Linked DNA regions of Homo sapiens: region 2 is linked to region 1. The links are contacts of gene promoters, found by promoter capture Hi-C in human tissues and cell types (Jung and others, 2019). All regions are on one chromosome and are shown on one strand. Each heading gives the region's core, a stretch centred on a gene start or on the middle of the fragment in contact. The rest is flanking DNA. Distances are from core to core; before and after follow the strand shown. Region 1 holds the start of TAF4 (TATA-box binding protein associated factor 4). Region 2 overlaps LOC105372706 (a long non-coding RNA gene).

Region 1 (6,960 bases), core at 3,392-5,891:
CCTCCCAAAGTGCTGGGATTATAGGTGTGAGCCACTGCGCCCAGCCAGGAGGTGCTTGGGTTTTATAAACTGGGTATGTGAACAGAATATGGGGAAAGTTATTTTAGGAAGTAACCAAAGCAACAATAGCACTCCTAAGAAACTCCTGGGTGGACCTCGTGCTTAGAAAGTGGAGCCCAGTAGCGTTGCACCTTTCCAGGTTAGGGAGGAGTCTAGAGGCCACAGGCTTCTCTCACCGGAAAGGTCATTTCTTGCTTGCACCTTGGGAAGGAGGAAGCGTCCCAGGAAGGCTGACTTGTTGGAGTGCCATCAGGACAACGCCGTTTACTCCTGAGCTTTGAAATGCGCTGCTGTCTGAGTTAAGCTAGTAAAATCCATCCGCGATGGCTATGGTTAGCCATTTGTGGGAGTCAGCCAAGAGGCTGTTGTAAATGAGTCACTCAAGAGTTTGCAGACAGCCCCGCTTGGGAGATCTGGGTCAATTTCAGGGAGGAAGCAGGCCTGACTCTTGACTATAATTTAGTGAGCAGGCATCTAATCCGTGGCGCCTGGTGTGTGGATGCATGGGCTGGTCAACTGCGCAGTGCCAGCTCTGCCAGCTTTGGGGTCCAAGTCCAAGGTTTCTGCCCCTTCCAAGAATGAAACCTGGGCTGCTGACTTAACTTCAAGCTCCAGTCCCCCCTCATCTGTACAACAGGCTCCACCTGGCCCTTGATCACGTGTCAGGCCTGATTAATGCTAGTGCCTGGCCAAGCCCTGACCCTGGCGAGAGAGTCCTGGCCGAGCAGATCTGAGAATCCTCATTTTCTTGGGAAAGCAGGGCAGGGGTTGGAGGTGTCTTGGCCAGTGGACTTCTCTACTCCGGAACTCTCAAGTCACAGGCTACTGTCTCAGGCTCCAGCCTCCCCAGACTTGTGTCCCAGGGTGAAGGGGCCAGGCTAAGTGCCTCTTACCAAAGGTCTCCCTGTAAGTGAACAGTAAGTAGCCATCCCGTATACTAGCTTGAATAGTGTCCCCTCAAACCATATCCACCAGAACATGAGGATGTGACCTTATCTGGAAGCAGGGGCTTTGCAGACATAATTGGTAAAGGATCTCATGATGAAATCGTTTTGGATTTAGGGAGGTCTTGAATCCAATGACTGGTATCCTTATAAAAGGAGAGGACACAGACACACAGGGAGAAGGTCAGGAGAAGACAGAGACTGGAGTGATGTGACCACAAGCCCAGGAATGCTTGGAGCCACCGGAAGCTGGAGGAAGCAGGAAGGATCCTCCCCTAGAGCCTCTAGAGGGAGTGCAGCCCTGCCCACACCCTGGTTCTGGCTTCTACAGCTGTGAGAATCCACCTGTTGTTGAAGTTGCATACGTTTGTGATCATTCGTTAAGGCAGCCTTGAGAAACGCATCCCTCTGCATTTACAGAGCAATTAGGTGGCCACAAGTTTCTCCCTGGGATGTGGATTCATTTGTGACCAGAGACATCCCCCCTGAGTCTGCAAGACTGACGAACGCTGCCAGCGGGGCTGGTGGACACCCCAAAAACATTCAGCTGCTATCTAGCTGCACGCCTTTTTCTTTGCGGAGTGGGTGGGGGGAAGGGGTCTCATTCTGTCGCCCAGCCTGGAGCGCAGTGGCACAATCATAGCAGCACGATCACAGCTCACTTGTAGCCTTGAACTCCAGGGCCCAAGTGATCCTTCTGCTCCAATCTCCCAAATAGCTGAGACCACAGGTGCACAACACCACGCTTGGCTAATTAAAAAAACCTGTTTTTAGTAGAGACCGTGTCTTGCTTTGTTGCCCAGGCTGGTCTTGAACTCCTGGGCTCAGACCATCCTCCTGCCTCAGCCTCCTAAAACCCTGCAGTTATAGGCGTGAGCTGGCGCTGGCTTTTTTTTTAAAAAATTGTTTTATGATGAGGGCTGTCAGGCAGACAATAAAAGCACAGGTCACCTAACAAACACCACAGAACTTTCACACAGCCTGCAGCTTGGAAATCACTGATTCCCTTTATTCTTAGATTTGTTTTATTCTTAATGTGTCTTAAACTTAATTCAAAACTTGTTTTTATTATTTTTTATATTTAAGTGAGCGTGTCTGATGCTCTATTTTATTTAAAAATACAAGACCCTGCTTAGTAAACTTGGAAGGCCCACTGAGCTGCCAGCCGCCGAGGCCACCTCTTTGCCCACAGCCTGGCAGCAAACATTTTTCCGGGTTGAAACAGTGCTTATGATTAACATTTGTTACAATTCCCCCTTTTCTCTTTTTATGCTGGGTGAGATTTTTCTTTCAAACTACACAAGTCCTAACTGCTTGGGGCAACAACTAAAATCACAGAGATACTAAAATTTGGCGGGAGGCCCCCAGGGTGACTCCCCACCACATGAACATTAGGAGGGGAAGTCACGTGCTGTCCTCACCCGCCTCCCCTCCCCCCCCCCCCGGAAGGCAGTGCTCCTGCAAACCCCAGACATAGAAGAGCTGCCTGGCTGTCTGCGGCTCCCACTTTCCCCAGGGCCTTCTGGTGCCCAACACCCTCCTTGCAAGGGAAGCTGGAATAGGTGGGCACAGACCCTTAACTTCTCGCAGTTCCTGCAGCTGCCAGGCTGGACGGTTCCCCAGAAGATCCTGCGAACACGTTGGAATGAAAGACTCCTGGCGGGGCCTTGGAGAAGAGGAGTCACCACTGTGCGTAGATGGCAGGAGACTCATTACAGATCTCAGTGGAGTAGCAGCGGACTTGAAGAGTGGAGGCCTGAGCGTGGGAACCTTCAGTTACCCCAGCCTTTGGGACCCTGGGGGCCTTGGAACCTGGTCTGTTTCCTGCGAGTCCTGCGTTCTGCTTCTGCCCCGACTCCAATCTGAGGGGTCTGTGGGTATGGGCTGTGCAGTGAGCCTGGTGCGCCCCACCTTGCAAGTTGTGCGTGGGGCCAGTTAGCCTGCCTGTGCTTTGACCTGCTTTAAAAATGTTCTAATTAGTTGTCAACACTCAAAAATTAAAAATCCCGAGATTTAATCATCACTTTATATTTCTGTTCTTTCTGGAAAACTCAGACTGTCCCCCTACTGAGCTCAAGGTGCTCCGTAGGTGTACCCACAGGGGCCCTCCCCGCCATACTCAGCTTGCTTCATTCATTTCCTTTCCTGCCTTCTGGGAGCCAAAGTTCAGGTACAAAACTCCAGCTGTACGTTTGCAGTGATTTCCCCCAAACACTGTTCCCCTATAGGGGAGGCACCTCTCCTAGGCTCCGTCCTCAATGCTCATTGGCTGCTGCTGCTGTCGAGAAACAAGCCTGGGGTGAAGTCCCGTATTCCAGTTATCAGTAAGTCCATTCCTTTGCAAGGCTACAGTTCGAACAGGCACAAGGGTCCAGTTCGGGTCTGCTTTCGAGACTAGCAGTCTCCTTTGTTAAAGCAATTAAAAAAATCATTTTCTTTGTCAGCAACGTCATTCATCGTCCCGAGGTCTCTGCTTATTGCGGCGCTGTCTTCAGCTGCGAAGACTGACCCTGTGGCCTCTTGGCCCCAGTGAGGTCCGAGGCAAGGAAGCGTCTCTCTGAAACCTATTCTGGGCTCTTAGGAAGAAATGAGAGAAAGGAAAACCACTAGAAATGTCCAATAACACCATCTTTTGGTTGGAAAATAAAACACGCAGAAAGAGGGGACTGGAACTTTTACTGAAGTATTTCTAGAGAGAAGGTGCTTGGGAACACTTTAGGTAACTTACTCCCCTCCCCCAGCAGAAGGTAAAAAAAGCTACTTCCAGACGTGCCGGCTTCAGGCTCGGGAACTTCGTTTGGCGCCTGGCAAGCACCGTGCTCTTACCTACGGGCTTATACGACACTCCTGTCTCCAAGGCAGCTGGGTGCGGGGACAGTCAGCCCGGGGCGGCTGGGTTTATTGATTAAAAATGGAGGGAAGGGCCAGGGGTGGTCACGATTGGAGGGCGAGAAGAGCCGTGCGCGCAGGACCCCTCCCCACCGCCCGGGACCGGCTGAGCCAGAGGCGGACCCAGCTTCCCCGCGGCGGCTTGGAGGGGCCGGGCGCCGGTCCCCGTCCCCAGGGCGCGCTGCGACAGTCCCCTCCCCGTTCCCGCCCGCCTCCCAGGCCCATCCACTCCAGGGCCTGCGCGCCGCCCGGCGGCGCCCCGGCATCCCCGCGCGCTGTTCCCCGGGCCTCGGACGGGCCCTGCGCCGCCGCTGCCACCGCGCACGGCGCCCGCCCGGCGCTCCCGTCAGCGCCGCCGCAGCCATTTTGGAGCGAGCCGAGACAAAGAGCGAGGCCCCGTCGCCGCCCCGCGCCCGCCTCGGCCCGGCCCAGCGCACCGTTCCCGCATCCCGCGCCCCGCCCGGCGGCCCCCTCCCCGTCCGCCACCGCCCCGGCGCCCGCGCCCCTGAGCTCCAGCCCCCGCGCTTCCCGCCGCTGCTGCCGCACCCCGGCCGACCGCCCGCGCCCCGGCCTCTAGCGCTCGCAGCCATTGGCCGCGCCTTTTAAGCGCGCGCCGCAGCCAATCGCCGGGCGCCCGCGGTCTCCGCGCCTGCGCAGGGCCGCCACCCCCGCTCCCCCGCCCCCCGGCCGCGCGCCCCCGCCCCCCGCCGGCCGCGCGCCGCCCCCCGCCCGCCCAGCGCCCGCCCCAGTCGGAACCTCCTCCTCGCCCAGGCGCGCTCGGCCCGAGCGGCGGCGGCGGCGGCGGCCGAGGAAAAAAGATGGCGGCGGGCTCGGATCTGCTGGACGAGGTCTTCTTCAACAGCGAGGTGGACGAGAAAGTGGTGAGCGACCTGGTGGGCTCGCTGGAGTCGCAGCTGGCGGCCAGCGCGGCCCACCACCACCACCTCGCGCCGCGCACGCCCGAGGTGCGGGCCGCGGCCGCCGGCGCGCTCGGGAACCATGTTGTGAGCGGCAGCCCGGCCGGAGCCGCGGGCGCAGGGCCGGCCGCCCCCGCCGAGGGCGCGCCCGGAGCGGCGCCGGAGCCGCCCCCCGCAGGTAGAGCGCGGCCGGGGGGCGGGGGGCCGCAGCGCCCGGGCCCCCCCTCACCGCGCCGCCCCCTTGTCCCCGCAGGGCCCGCGCCGCCCGCCGCGAAGCTGAGGCCGCCGCCCGAGGGCAGCGCGGGGTCCTGCGCCCCGGTGCCCGCCGCCGCCGCCGTCGCCGCGGGGCCCGAGCCCGCCCCCGCCGGCCCCGCCAAGCCCGCCGGCCCCGCCGCGCTGGCCGCCCGCGCCGGCCCCGGCCCCGGGCCCGGCCCCGGCCCCGGCCCCGGCCCTGGCCCTGGCAAGCCCGCCGGCCCCGGCGCCGCGCAAACTTTGAATGGGAGCGCCGCGCTGCTGAACTCGCACCACGCCGCCGCACCTGCTGTCAGCCTGGTCAACAACGGGCCCGCCGCGCTGCTGCCGCTGCCCAAGCCCGCCGCCCCCGGCACTGTCATCCAGACGCCCCCCTTCGTGGGCGCCGCCGCGCCCCCCGCGCCCGCCGCGCCCTCGCCCCCCGCCGCCCCCGCGCCCGCCGCCCCCGCCGCCGCCCCGCCCCCGCCACCCCCCGCGCCCGCCACTCTGGCCCGGCCGCCCGGCCACCCCGCCGGACCCCCGACCGCCGCGCCCGCCGTGCCGCCCCCCGCCGCCGCCCAGAACGGGGGCAGCGCCGGGGCAGCCCCCGCCCCCGCCCCGGCCGCCGGGGGCCCCGCGGGGGTCAGCGGCCAACCCGGGCCCGGCGCGGCGGCTGCGGCGCCGGCGCCGGGGGTCAAGGCCGAGTCGCCCAAGAGGGTGGTGCAGGCGGCGCCCCCGGCGGCGCAGACCCTGGCGGCCAGCGGCCCGGCCAGCACGGCGGCCAGCATGGTCATCGGGCCAACTATGCAAGGGGCGCTGCCCAGCCCGGCCGCCGTCCCGCCGCCCGCCCCCGGGACCCCCACCGGGCTGCCCAAAGGCGCGGCCGGCGCAGTGACCCAGAGCCTGTCCCGGACGCCCACGGCCACCACCAGCGGGATTCGGGCCACCCTGACGCCCACCGTGCTGGCCCCCCGCTTGCCGCAGCCGCCTCAGAACCCGACCAACATCCAGAACTTCCAGCTGCCCCCAGGTGAGTGGCCGCACGGGGCGGGAGGGAAGGGCGGCTCCCAGCAGCGCCAGCTGCCAGTTCCAGGAAGTTCTCCGCTGGTGGAATGCTAAGGTCATCTGTCCCGTAGGCCCGTGGCTGGAGCAGGCCGAGGGGCAGTCTCTACCCAGGTGCGGGGCCAGCCCGGGTGGCTGTCTGCGAGTGAGCCAGAGGGAGTCGGCATAGCCTGCGTCCCTGTCGCTGTCCCTGACGTCCGCGCTGGCTGCCTGTGCCTGGGGCTGGTCTGTTTCGGAGTGGCTCAGCCAGGACTCTTAGTGGAGTGGTCCTTACCTGCTCCCGCCCTATGCGTCCCTGCCCGGGTTGGTAGGCTCAGCGCAGGGGCTCCCTGGGCCAGGCGATGGGGTCTGCAGAGCTGAGGGCAGTACCTGGGGCTGTGAGTGGCAGCAGCTGTCCCCTGCTCAGTTCTGCAGTTAGGCGTGTGGCCTGTGTCCCCACTTAGCCTTTCTGCCCCTTGGTGACCCTGGGCTCGAGCCTCTTCAGTCTCCAGGCGAGGACGGGGGCGCGACGCCCCCTCCTTGAGGCTCGGGAACTCTGGATGGAAGGCTTGGGCTCCTCTGCTGCCACCAGGCAGGGAGAGATGTCAGGCGCATCCTGCGAGAGTCCTCCCGGCGCGCAGCCTTGCTGAGAGCCACGCTGTGGAGTAGGGTTTCAGCACCGTGTGTGTCACTGTCTCTTCCAGAGCTGCGTTGGTGCCTAAAGGAAGGAGCGCCTAGCTACTCTGGTTGCTGCCCCCTCGGGAGGGCAGTGGGAGGGCGGTGGCAGCAGATGTTCTCGCTCCGTGCAGGGGTCTCGGGGCGATACTGGCTATGCTGCGGATGCCTGGGGCTCCGACGCCACTTCCGCCTGGCAGTTC
Region 2 (7,086 bases), core at 1,762-4,261, 34 kb before region 1:
GGATTCTTCCCGAGGTGGGAGGACCGAGGGCAGAGGCTCCTGGCCCAGTCACCCAACCCCACTTCCGGGCTTCAGCTCTTGGGCCAGGTGGGCACACTCTGTCTTCTTTTTCTTGTGCAAGTGACATCCCAGGTGCCATTTCTCGAGGTTGCCAGGCTTCCCAGCCTCTGGCTCCTGCTTGTGTCTTTGTAGGGGAGGTGGCTATGATGGTGACAGCACATTCGAAGCAGCAGTGGTTACAGTTTCCTTCTAAAAATACATTGAAGACAGAGTCAAATGTAAGGGGGTGACTTCTGGTTCAGCACAGCGTGCAGAGCACACGCTTCTCCCTGGATCTTGGACCACAGAGGGGACACTGCTGACCTTGCTCCTCTGGGGCATCCCCTCCCTAGACTCACGGGAGGACCACAGAGGACACGGCTGACCCTGCTTATCTGTGGGCATCTCCTCTCTGGCTCAGCTGGAAGACAGACAGCTGGGCAGTACCAACTGGGCAGACCAGGGAGAGGCAGAGCCCAGGCACACAGGGTGGGGAATCCCCAGGACCCCAGAGGGACTCCATCCAGAAGGCCAGGCAGCTCTGAAGGTGGAGCATGGGGTGGACTGGGAGCTCAGACCCACCCCTAGGAGACTGCTTTTCCTACAGATGCAGGCAGAAGACAGGGGTCCAGGTGCTGCTCTCAGGAGTCAGGGCTGGGAGGTTCTGGGCTGGGGCCAGGGGTAGGCACAGCCTGTGAGAGAGCAAGGCACTGAGGAGGGCCAGGAGATCAGGTCACAGCCACATCCTGAAAGGTGGCCTGAGCCCTTTACTCTGCTCCCTCCCCGAGTGCCAACAGCCTGATGTGTCTCCCGGGTGGGAGGTGGGGGCTCTGTGGAATTGCGCTGGCCTCTTAAGAACCCTGACCACATATTCAGACCTTGCTGCTTCCCCCTCTGAGGTCCACCCTGGAGCAGCCCCTCATCCCCCTACACCCACACTGCTCCACCTCAGCACTTTTGAGCCTCTCATGAAGACACGTGGACCCCAAGGGTCACTGGACTTTGAAGAAGAAAAAGACCCCACACGAAAGACAGATCCCACATCCCCATGCACCAAAGAAGGGAGCTTGGGGGAAAGAGTAGCAACCTGAGGAACAAAAAATATAAAAAAGAAAAAACCTTATTGCTGATACCCTTGGAGAGAGAAGAGAAAACAGCACATCCATGACCTAAGAACAGGATGTAATAAAAAAGGAACAGTGAGAAATTAAGAAAGAGCTCTTGGAAATGAAAAAAAAAAAGCACAAATGAAAACTTCCATAAAAGATAAATTTCTCAGGCGGGGCGTGGTGGCTCACATGTGTAATCTCAGCACTTTGGGAGACCAAGGCAGGTGGACCATCTGAGGTCAGGAGTCCGAGACCAGCCTGGCCAACATGGTGAAACGCTGTCTCTACTAAAAACACAAATATTAGCTGGGCATGGTGGTGGGCACCTGTAATCCCAGCTCTTCAGGAGGCTGAGTCAGGAGAATCACTTGAACCCAGGAGGTGGAGATTGTGCCATGAGCCGAGATTGTGCCACTGTACTCCAGCCTGGGTGACAGAGAGAGACTCCGTCTCAAAAAAAAAAAAGATAATTTTTTCATAAAGTAGAGAAAATGAAATGAAAAATAGGGAAGAAAACATTAATAAGAGCTCCAGAAAGAGAAAACAGAATGGAGAGCATCGCCAAGCAAGTGATTTATGAGGAAACATCCTAAAATGTGGACGTGAGGCTCCAGGTTGAATGAGTGAAGGAAGGCCGGCATGGCATCATGAAATTTCTGAACACAGGACATGAAGCCAACTCTTGGCAGAGCAGGTCCCAGTCCCACGAAAGAGCTGGTGATCTGACTGGCACTGCCTCTCAGGTGGCTGCAGGTGGACAATGTCGGCAGCGGGCAAAACCTTCACAGCCCCGTGGGAAGCTACTCTGCATCCTCGTCCCCCGGGGGACCCTAAGACTGAGGAGGCCTCCAGGCACCTTTCTCAGTGAACTCCTAGAGAATGTGCAGGGAGTGAGCGGGGAGGGCAGTCGGGGGACCCAGGTTCCGCTCAGGACAAACCCCAACAGAGGTGTGGGAGCTCGTTGCCCATGGACAGCAGTGTGAAGAGCAGCCGCCTGGGGAGTCAGGGCCAGGCTGCCCATGAGAGCCCCTGGGAGGATGGGGCTGATGGCTTTCTTGCTCCCCACGTGGAAAGGTGGCCCAGGACACGCTTTCTAGAGTCCCTGGGGAGGTTTGGGATGGGAACAGGCAGACACAGGATAAACTGACCGCAAGAACGACTTACACCCAAAGCCTGGAGGAGTGCGCTGCTCAGGCCTGCGTGGGCCCAGGGGACCACCCTCTGCCGGGCGGGTGAGCAGAGGAAGTGCAGGGAAGCAGCAGCAGGACAGCAGGGCCGTGGGGCTGGGAATCCAGAGCAGGCAGGGCCACGTTCTTCTCTTCGTGGCCTCATCTGTGGCCTCAGATCGTTTTGATGCAGATGCAAAGGATGCCTTAGGAGAGTCAGCTCTGTCGCCATCAGGATTTCCGTCTGTATCAGAGGCAAGGGTGTACCCATGGGAAGCAGAGGTGGGTCCAGGGGTGCACGGAGGAGGGTGGGCTGCTCAGACAGCAAGCAGGTGGTGAGGACAAACCTGAGAGAAGCCGTCTCAGCCAATAGCAGTGGCCACTCAGATCATCCAGTCATTGGTTCATTCATTGATCTGTTGATGGACTGATCCCCCCATCACTGATGTACTGATCCCACAGACACTCATTGAGTGTGGGTCAACATACAATCCCCACGCTGGTGAGCATCGGGGCTGGGGTGGGGCTGGGCACTCTATGGTAAGGGCTCCTTCCTTGGTCTGGGACTGAGGCCTCCTACCTGCTGCACCCTGGATGTACCTCGAGGCTTCCAGGCCAACTCTAGGTGTGTGGTTTAATGGGCCTGGGTGTGGCTGAGTATGGGGTTTTATCCAAGCTTGCCAGGCATTCTAATAAGTAGCCGGGGGTATGAGCTGCGGGTCTAGGGAGAGCGGGGGAAGCTTCAGTGAGAATCTAGGAGGAAGGAGTGGGCAGAGAGGTGGGCTGCAGAGTCCCCTGAAGGCTGGTGTGGGGAGGCAGCTGTGAGGGTCTGAAAGGGGGTGTGGAGGGACAGGCCGGGGAGAGCCAGGAGGAGCCCCCACGGAAGGGCTGGGTTGAGGGAGGGCATGGGAGAGCAGAGCTGGGAGGTTACAGGAGAGCCTGGAGAGGACAGAGGGGACGGCCTCGGCATGGCAGCTGCACCCACAGAGCAGGCAGTACCACATGGCACCTATCGAGTGCTGCCAGATGCCCAGTGACTGAAGCAGGGCTAGTGGGGCGATCTGTAGGCAGGATGTCCATGGGGTCCTGGGTCTTGAAGTGAAGAACATGCTTCTAGACTGTTCTTCACTGCCCTGTTCAGCTTTCCCCTGTCCAAGACGCCGGCTCCCAACAGGTCGGGGGGTGACCTGGAATGGCGTGGAAATCCTCACCAGCTGGAAGATGGTGGAGTTGGGTCCAACCCAGCAGCCACCCCCTCCACCATGAAGTGGCAGGAGGTGAGTTCTGGGGAAAGCTGGTTGGTTCTAAGCAGCACCCTGTCTGTGGCAGGACAAACCCACCTGACCCAGTTCTGTGCTATTTTTTTCTTTTTTCTTCTTTTTTTTTTTTTGAGATGGAGCCTCCACTGTCACCTGGGCTGGAGTGCAGTGGTACAATCTCGGCTCACTGCAACCTCCGCCTCCCAGGTTCAAGCGGTTCTCCTGCCTCAGCCTCCTGAGTCACTGGGATTACAGGCGCCCACCACCGTGCCCAGCTAATTTTTTCTATTTTTAGTAGAGATGGGGTTTCACCATGTTGACCAGGCTGGTCTTGAACTCCTGACCTCGTGATTCACCCGCCTCGGCCTCCCAAAGTGCTGGGATTATAGGCGTGAGCCACCGCGCCCGGCCTGTTCCATTTTTAAACTCCCAGCTTGCGGGACTCCTTCACCATCACCTTTTGATCTCCCTGGAAGACAAGGGTTTTTTTGGTTTCTTTTTTCTTTTTCTTTTTTTCAAGAAGGAAATGTTCTAAAACAAAAGATTTGTCTAGGCCTACATCTCCTTTTCCACAAGATTCACCTGGGAGGAGGTGCAGGCCGGGCGCCGCTGCAGCATCTTTTCCTGCCGTTCACTCTGGTGCGGGAAGGGACGCTGGGGAGCCTGTGACTGAGGGAACAGTGGACCCCAGGCAGGCCCCTCCCCAACGGCACGCTGCAGGTCCAGCTTTGCTGGAGCCCTACGCTCGTCCTGGCTGCAGGGTCTGTCCTGAGCAGCCCGTGAGGCCGTCGGGGCCCTACCTGGCTCCTCTCCTGCTTCCTCCTGGCCAGTGTCCAAAGAGCCCCAGCCCCAGGCCCAGGTCCCCACCCTGGGCTCCCACGGATCTGGGCTCCAGCACATTGAACCCTGGGCTTTTCGGATGACTGTGTTCACTCTGTGTTTCAGAAATCCATTCTGACACCAGAAAAGCCATGGGCTGCCCTTCCCATCTTCCATTTCCCTGCAGTGGGGCCTGTCTGCCTGTGTGTAAAACGCTTCCTGGAATGTGCCCTCCGCCCGACTGTCCGCGGTGCCCCCACCCTGCCTCTGGCAACACCCATCCCCCTGCATGGGGGCACAGAATTCTCTCTCCCCACACCCTCTCCCACCTGCACCTGCCCCTTCAGAGCCATGCCCCCCCAAAAGCATGCAGATGCCTGCCTCATGCCCACCCTCTTCCTGGGAACCCTCATGCCCATGTCCGCAATCGCCTCCCACCCCCTACTCCACTACGTTTGCCCTGAGTGTGGTGCCTGCGTGGCCTTCCCGGAGCAGCCTCTTGACAACTGTTCTGCTGGGGCTCAAATTACCCATCACTGGACAGTGGGTGCAGTGAGCAGGGGGAGTCCCCAGTGTGAGGACAGGCGGGAACTGAAGTCATGTCGTGGGACGTGGTCATGGACAGGATGGTCTCCCACCCCTGGTGGGAGGACCCAAGGGTCTGGTCCCGTGAGGCCCCCAGGGCATTTTGTCCTTGGCTGTGCCCGTGGTGGCATCAACACGACTTCCCCAGCCTAGGGGCCTTCCTTCCTCTTTGAGACCGCCGCCACCCCCCACCCTGCTCTCTGATCCGACCAGGCAGGCCCTCCATTCCCCCGGTCCTTGCCATGCCCCATGAGGGACGCAGAGGTGGGACACTGTCCCTACTGCATGGATGAGAAACCCAAGCCCCAGGGCCCGCCTCGGGCCACACAGCCGGCGGGGACAGAAGAGGCGCCCAGTGCCATTCTGGGTGACAGGTAACCGCAGGGCCCAGCCCTTCCTGGATCCACTTCTCGGCTCCTGGCCTGGGCAGTGCAGATCCCCCTGCAGAGTGCATCCCTCCCCACGCCTGACAGTGTCTGTGCCCATGACACCTCAGGGAAGCCCTCCCTGGCTCCTGTCCTCCCCCTCTCAGCCCTGCTGGCTCCTCCTGCCGGCACAACTGTGCTTGTCTCCTGTCTCCCTGCATGGTGGGAATGTGTCCCTGGCGCCTGGAACGTGCCCGGCCCATCGTGGCACCTAGGAGGTGTCTGCAGAGCCAGTCAAGGTTGCAGAGGGGGAGCTGCTAGGAGCTCCTGGCCCCTCCTCTTTCCCCCGAAATGTCTGCCAGCAGATCTGAGAGGGCCTCAGATGGCGAAGAATGAGGGGACCTTAGGAAACCCCTGTGGTCCCTGCCGCAGGCCCCCAGGGGAGGGCTGGTGAGTGTGGTGGGGAGGGGGTGTAGCAGAGGAGGCAGGACTGGGGTCCCAGAGGGAGAGGTCGAGGTGGGGCGGTGGGCCAGGGCATGTGTGAGCATGAGCGTGCTCATGTGTGTGTATGCAAGGGTGTGCAGCGTGTGCACCACGCGTGAGAGTGCAGACATGTGCATGTGTCCGGCGAGGTCTCGGATTACCTGTTCTATGTTTCAACTTGGTGCTTTGGTCCTTTCTCCTGCAACTCAAGTCCAGGATAGAGGCCCAGTACCAGGCTCCTAATGAGCAGATTCTGGCCCTCATCCATTCCAGAGCAAGGCTTTCTGTCTGGTTTTGGGTTTTTGTCTTTTTTGAGACAACATCTTGCTCTGTCCCCCAGGCTGCAATGCAGTGGCATGGTCACAGCTCACTGCAGCCTCCACCTCCTGGGCTCAAGCAATCCTTCTGCCTCAGCCTCCCGAGTAGCTGAGACAACAGGCATACACCACCATGTTTGGCTAATTTTTAATTTTTTGGTGGAGACTGTGTCTCGCTATGTTGCCTAGGCTAGTCTTGAACTCCTGACCTACAGCGATCCTCCCACTTCATCCTACTGAGTAGCTGGGACTACAGGTGTGTACCATCATGCCTGGCTAATTTTTTTTTTAATTGTGTAAAGACAGGGGTCTCACTATGTTGCCCAGGCAGGTCTTAAACTCATGGTCTCAAGTGATTCCTTCCTCAGCCTCTCAAAGTGCTGGGATTACAGGCATGAGCCACTGCTTCTGACCTCCCTCTGCTGTGTTATTTTATTTTATTTTATTTTGTTCTGTTCTATTCTATTCTATTCTATTCTATTCTATTCTATTCTATTCTATTCTATTCGAGACGGAGTTTCGCTCTGTCGCCCAGGCTGGAGTGCAATGGCATGATCTTGGCTCACTGCAACCTCTGCCTTTCAGGTTTAAGTGATTCTCCTGCCTCAGCCTCCCAAGTAGTGGGATTACAGGCACTCACCACCATGCCTGGCCAATTTTTAGTAGAAACAGTGTTTCACCATGTTGGCCAGTCTGGTTTCGAACTCCTGACCTCAGGTGATCTGTCCGCTTCGGCCTCCCAAAGTGCTGGGATTACAGGCGTGAGTCACCGCTTCTGGCTTTCCTGTTTTTTAAGCTGAAAAAAAAAAAATGTGCCTGGCTTATCGAGGCAGGACATTCATTTTGCAAACTGTTTCTGAACCCCACACCCCATTTTATAAAATATGAACATTACAATGCAGATTGACATGAATTTGGGAAAGGTTTTAATGTATGAGATTACA

The links. Contacts are between HindIII fragments. The study calls those that stand out against the background at their distance.
Region 2: a fragment that was not itself captured here is called in contact with the fragment with the promoter of TAF4 in region 1 in 1 of the 25 tissues and cell types used here (thymus).

Annotation. Positions count from the first base shown.
Region 1 is chr20:62,063,562-62,070,521 of GRCh38, reverse strand. TAF4 (TATA-box binding protein associated factor 4) reads left to right here and starts at 4,641. Exons shown (of 15, transcript NM_003185.4): 1 at 4,641-6,071. The coding sequence starts at 4,712. It overlaps MIR3195 (microRNA 3195), which reads right to left and starts at 5,720; the gene lies at 5,637-5,720. It overlaps LOC105372705 (a long non-coding RNA gene), which reads right to left and starts at 4,068. Exons shown (of 2, transcript XR_936960.3): 1 at 3,831-4,068; 2 at 1,987-3,580. RefSeq lists enhancers at 3,352-3,865, 4,894-5,408, 5,409-5,922, 5,923-6,437, 6,438-6,951 and silencers at 3,861-4,240, 4,501-4,610, 4,871-4,960. The HindIII fragment of the contact is 19,572 bases long and covers 1-6,960 here.
Region 2 is chr20:62,095,413-62,102,498 of GRCh38, reverse strand. LOC105372706 (a long non-coding RNA gene) reads left to right here. Exons shown (of 3, transcript XR_936963.2): 3 at 1-1,356. Among named protein-coding and RNA genes, the nearest start is that of LSM14B, 24 kb to the left of the region's middle. The HindIII fragment of the contact is 5,244 bases long and covers 390-5,633 here.